Regions from separate parts of the Homo sapiens genome. Here region 2 is linked to region 1. Evidence: promoter capture Hi-C in 16 types of primary human blood cells and fetal thymus (Javierre and others, 2016). All regions are on one chromosome and are shown on one strand. The core of a region is centred on a gene start or on the middle of the fragment in contact, and the rest is flanking DNA. Distances in the headings are between cores, read along the strand shown.

The links. The method cuts DNA at HindIII sites, captures the fragments that hold promoters and counts their contacts. A CHiCAGO score of 5 or more calls a contact.
Region 2: the fragment with the promoter of ACTR5 here is called in contact with the fragment with the promoter of SNHG17 in region 1 in 7 of 17 cell types (neutrophils, erythroblasts, fetal thymus and 4 more); the score reaches 12.2 in neutrophils.

The regions. Positions count from the first base shown.
Region 1 is chr20:38,434,003-38,436,650 of GRCh38, reverse strand. It overlaps SNHG17 (small nucleolar RNA host gene 17), which reads left to right and starts at 1,323. Exons shown (of 8, transcript NR_185934.1): 1 at 1,323-1,624; 2 at 2,025-2,147. It overlaps LOC124904958, which reads right to left. Exons shown (of 3, transcript XM_047440636.1): 2 at 2,046-2,188; 3 at 1-1,809. The coding sequence ends at 1,163. RefSeq lists enhancers at 1,201-1,260, 1,281-1,570. The HindIII fragment of the contact is 24,063 bases long and covers 1-2,648 here.
Region 2 is chr20:38,747,123-38,749,770 of GRCh38, reverse strand. It overlaps ACTR5 (actin related protein 5), which reads right to left and starts at 1,311. Exons shown (of 9, transcript NM_024855.4): 1 at 918-1,311. The coding sequence starts at 1,292. RefSeq lists silencers at 1,076-1,265, 1,566-1,835 and an enhancer at 1,214-1,715. The HindIII fragment of the contact is 9,906 bases long and covers 1-2,648 here.

The sequences.
Region 1 (2,648 bases), core at 74-2,573:
CAATCATGGCGGAAGTGGAAGCAAACATGTCTTTCTTCACATGGTGGCAGCAAGGAGAAGTATAGAGCAAAAGTGGGTAAAGCCCCTTATAAAACCATCAGGTCTCATGAGAACTCACTCACTATCAGAAGAACCGCAGCATGGGGGTAACCACCCCCATGATTCCATTACCTCCCACGACAGGTGGGAATTATGGGAAGTACAGTTCCAGATGAGATTTAGGTGGGGTCACAGCCAAACCATAGCAGCATCCCACAGCCCCTCCCCATCACAGAGACTCCCAGTGTTCTCACAGTCTGGGAATCCCATGGGCCTCTCCCAGGTACAAAATATGGAGCAGATCTCACCTCAGGGACCCCCATTTCCCTCATGGTTGCATAGATCAGGACTGGATTTTCTTGTCCTTCTGACCTATTGAGTACCAAGAATCTGACTGGAGCGGGGCGGAGGGTGGGGCGTGGGCTCCTCATCAGGCCCAAGGGTGGGCTGCTTGCACTCCAGAACATGGGCAGAGTCAGTAGCAGGGCTGTCTCAGGCCGAAGAGGCACATCCTGCCCAGGGTGCAGGCAGTGCCAATGCTTATGAGGATTTGTGGGCCATGAGTCCCCTCCCAAGATTGTCTCCAGTATGTTGCAGGGAACATGGGACATCTGTCTACAGTCTCTGTCACTGTGCAAATCTGATCAGGTTCCTCAGATGCCAGTCTGGTCAGGTCTCTTCTGCTTCAGAGACTCTTTCCACCCTCCATCCCGTGTACTTTGAGGCTGGAGTTTAGCAAAGCAGTTACCCGCTGTGCATCTCTCTTGGCTCATCTTCTCACGCTCACATTCCAGTCTCAGGCCATGACTCAGTCATCTCGGTCTGACATTGTTCAGAAAAAAAGGAATGGGGCGGGGGTAGAATTCATTCATTCAACTGTGCTAGTCACTGAACTAGGTACTGAGTACAGTGGTGAATCAAAGACAGATGCCTTTGGACCCTTGCAGAAAGAAGTCCAAACTAAGCACAGTCCCCTCATCGTAGTAACAGCTCCTATCATGGAAAATTGGCCATTCCTACAGATTAATAATGAATCAGTGACCAAGGAACATCTTCAGAACAAACAGAAAAGCAAAGCAAGTGGGAGAAGTTTACTTCTAAACTTCCAGATAGTTTTCGAAAATTATCCCAAGTCCTCCAGAGTCTGGCGTTGAGCCTCCGCTCCGCCAGGGGACGCTGCAGGACTGCTCGCGTCGGTTCCTACCGCTCTAGGCCGCAGCTCGCGCTCTCGTCTGTATTTCCGCCGGCGCGAAACGAGCGTAGCTTCCTTGTCGTGTGGCCTCAGTCCTTCGCCGTCCCTCGCCGTCCTTCGCCATCGCACGCCACCGCACCCCATCTCTCGAAATCTGCAGACATCTTGATTTTTCCCACGCTGTCTGTCAGGTCTCCGCCGCCACTCGACGCCAGGGCGCCGGGTGAGTCCACAGCAGGGCGCATGGTCGGCTCCACTCTCACCATCGGGGGAAACTGAGGCCCCGGGGAAGGCGGCCAGAGAGGTCAGGCCCTGTCCTTGGTGCAGTGTCTCGTCCTCTTTGCCGGAGTGAGCCCCCCAGGATTCGCGTGTCCTCGGGAAAGACACTGGCAGGTGAGTCGCGCCCTTGGCCGCGGCAGTGCTGAGCGGGCCACGTGCGGTCGTCAGACCCCCTGTCCGCGCAGCTACTCTGCGGGGAGGCTTAGTGCCCCTGGATGGCGGGAAACAGGGCTCGGCGACTTTAGCTGCCCGCCCCCGACTCCTGGCATTGGAAGCCTCCAAAGCCACTTGACTGTTGCCTACAAAGTGCCAGTCATTGTGCCACGTCCTTGAGACCGTTAACTCGTTTTCCCCTCAATAACTTTTAAAAGTAGGTGTTAGAACCTTCATTTTACAGACCAGTTAGCTGTGGTTTAAATGGAAGACGCTGCCAGCACTCCAGTGGGGCAGAGTCTGGACTTCTGTCCCCGGGCCTTGTACTAAAGCCCCCTCCCCGTGCTTTTTCCTTGCCTAGGCCTTGTGGGCTGTGCTGCACCTCGGACGGCTTCGCACCAGCCAGCGCCCTCTCTCTCCTGCAGCACTCTGATCTGCACCCCCTGAGGGGCTTCCACTGTCCGCGGGGTGAGAATGCCCCTGGGTAAGTGCCGCTGCTTCTGCGCACCTTGGGGAAGGACCCTTCTGTGGGACGCAGTAGAGGGGACAGTCAATGAGCTCAGCCAGTTCTGAGTTCTGAGAACTGTCTGGCAAAGCGGGTGCAGAGCAAAGCGTGACTTAGGAGACGGGCTGCGCTTGGGGTCACATGCTAGCTAAGTTCCTTCATTCCCCTGAGGTTGACTTTCTGTAAAGTAGGGAAACTGCAAAGGCTCTCTGAGGGCAGAGGCCTTGGCTGTTTTTCTTGATTTTGAACCCACGGTGCCTGTCCACGTGTAGATACTCAGAACTGGTGGGCTGAATGTACAGCCGAGGCATTTTTACCAGAAGTCTGTTTTCCTGTGGACTCTGGGTGGGGACAGATGGAATCTGCCTGTGAAGTGATGATGGCTCTCAGGGTCCTGGGTACCCTTCTCTTCCCTGGGGGGTGAGCCTCCCTCTGGAGATCTGGCAGCTAACACGCTGACGTGGGCTCACCTGCCCTTTT
Region 2 (2,648 bases), core at 62-2,561, 310 kb before region 1:
TCTTCAAAGTATTTCCAGAATCCAACTGCTTCTAATGACATTCCCTGCTATCTGCCTCATCTAAGCCACCATCATCCCTTACCTGGGTTATTCCAACAGCCTCCTAACTCGTCCCTGTTTCCACCCTATGATCCAAGACAATTCATTCTCCATACAGCAGTAATAGTGATCCTTTTAAAACACAAGTCAGGTCCTTCTTCAGCTCAACACCCTGCCATGGCTCCCCATTTCACTCAGTAAAAGCCTATAAGGTGTGTGATCTGCCTCTCCACTACCTCTCTGACATCCTCTTTCAGGTACTACTCTCCCCCTCACACAGGCAGCCTTGCAGTTAGGATTAGGGCACACTCCTGCCTCGGGGCCTTTTTACTGGCTGCTCCCTCTGCCTGGACCGTTTTTCCTTCAGATATTCACATGGCTTGCTACCTGAATCACCTCCTTCAAGTCCTTGCTCAAACATCACCTTCACGAGTCCTACCCTGACCATCTTACTGAAAAAATGTAACTCCCTCCTCTCCTATCACGGCGTAGAATCTACTATTTCTATGTTTACTGTCTGCCTTTTCATACTAGAATATCTTTCCATAGTATTAACAGCTCCATAAGCACAGGAAGTTTTGTGTTCACACATGTACTCCAAATGCCTAAAAAGTGCCTGACACAGAGTAAGTGCTCAATACGTATTTGTTAATAAATGGGCTTCTTAACAAACAAGCATATATGCCCAAAGGTATGCTCCAAGATACAAGGAGCAGCATTTTATTCGCTGCTACACCCACAGCGCCTAGCATCTGGTCGACTAAAAGACAATCGGAGCTACTGAAGTGACTGTTACCTCTCCGAGAGCAGAGTGAGCGGAGACGAGACCGCACCCCTCCCCTCAAACCCAGCCCAGCCCAGCCTACTCCGCCCTTCACCTGTGAGGAGACACCCAGGTGCTGGAAGCTGTAGTCCAGCAGCAACTCCTGAAGCTCCAGGTTGACCGGCACGTTGCGGTCGAAGGGCGAGCGCAGCATCCAGCGCAGTGGCTCCAGGCTGCCCAGAGCGTTCCCCACCTGCGGGCCCGACGCGCCCCGTGCCCCGCCACGACCGCGGGCGCACACCGCGCGGAACTGCAGGCGCGGCTCGGGACCTGGGTCCTGCCCGGGACACGCCCAGCCAGCGCGGACTTGGAACGACCCGTTGTCCAGCACCAGCGGTACCGGCAGTGGCCCGTGTGCCACCGGGCCGGCCTCCAGCACTGGGTCCGGTGCGGCACGGGCGTCGCGGAACGGGAACACGTTCGCCGCCATCTTGGAGCGCGCGTCCAGCCCCGCCCCTCGGCGCAGTGTCCGCCCAGACGCCGCGAAACCGCGCCCCCGACGTCACGCCGCGCGATTCAGGCCTTTAAGTACCTCGATGCCCCCTCCCTTCTCGAAGCCCGGCCAGCCTTTCCACTTGACTCGCCTCTGGCTGTCAAGGCTGCTTTCAGGATCGCTGAGACGTACCCATTCTGGCTGCGAAATTCTACGTTTCTTAACCTCTCCCCCAATAGCCTATGAGTGCCCACGCCCCTTCACTCTAGCCGGGACGCCCGGTTTGGAAGCCCCGCCCCAAAGCCTATCGCCGCCAGGCCCCGCCCCTTTCTGGCTGCCAGCTTCAGCGCCGCGCTCGGTGGAGCCCCGCCTCTCTGCCTGGCCACGCCCCATTGCCGGGCGCGCACCGTCGGCCGGGCGCGCACCGTCGGCCGGGCGCGCACCTTCGACCGCCGGCGGCCCCGCCTCCGCGTGGCTGTCTCGCCCTCAGTCTTGCGTCCTGGCTAGAAGGGTCCTTTATCTTTTGACGCTTCCTTTACGTTAAGAAATCTCAAACTCTGCCGACTGTTCAATTTCTTGACTAGGGAGCTGACTACTCAGTTCTGTTCACTTTACTAACTCGCACAGACTGTGTCTTCTCACTAAGACACAGTGTTTTCTCAAACCCTGAGAAAAGACTGCTGATTGTTCCCCAAGCATTCCCTCTCTTTTAGTGGCATCACCTCCCACTCCCACGTGGCCATCCGTCTGGCTGCGATCTAGATGCGCTCATGTGACTAAATTCTGGCCAGGAGCGGGTGGGAGAGGAGGCCATGTGTGTGACCCACTCAGTTTTAGCCCTAAAAGCACTCGTCGCGCTCTATCCTGTCGCATTTCCATCTTTTCACTAGCTAAGGGGGTAAGAATTAGAGCAGTTGTTTTACTACAACCTTTTTTTGTGCAGTGGGGCGATCTCGGCTCACTGCAGCCTCGACTTCCTGGACTCAAGTGATTCTCCCGCCTCAGCCTCCTAAGTAGCTGAGATTACAGGCGTGCACCACCACGCCCAGCTAATTTTTATATTTTTAGTAGAGAAGGGATTTCACTATGTTGCCCATGCTGGCCATAACCATTTTGAAAGAAGAAAAAGAATAGAGCAGCTGCCTTGAATCTACTCTACCAGGTCTATAACACTTCAGTTTGAGAGATAAAATCAAATTAGTTACAAAAGATATTGTAAGCGAGAAATGAAACTCCTAACTTATCTCAAGAACCTCTATTAACAGTGTTTGTTGTTGTTGTTGTTTGTTTTTTTTAAGACGGAGTCTGGCTCTGTCACCCAGGCTGGAGTGCAGTGGTGTGATCTTGGCTCAC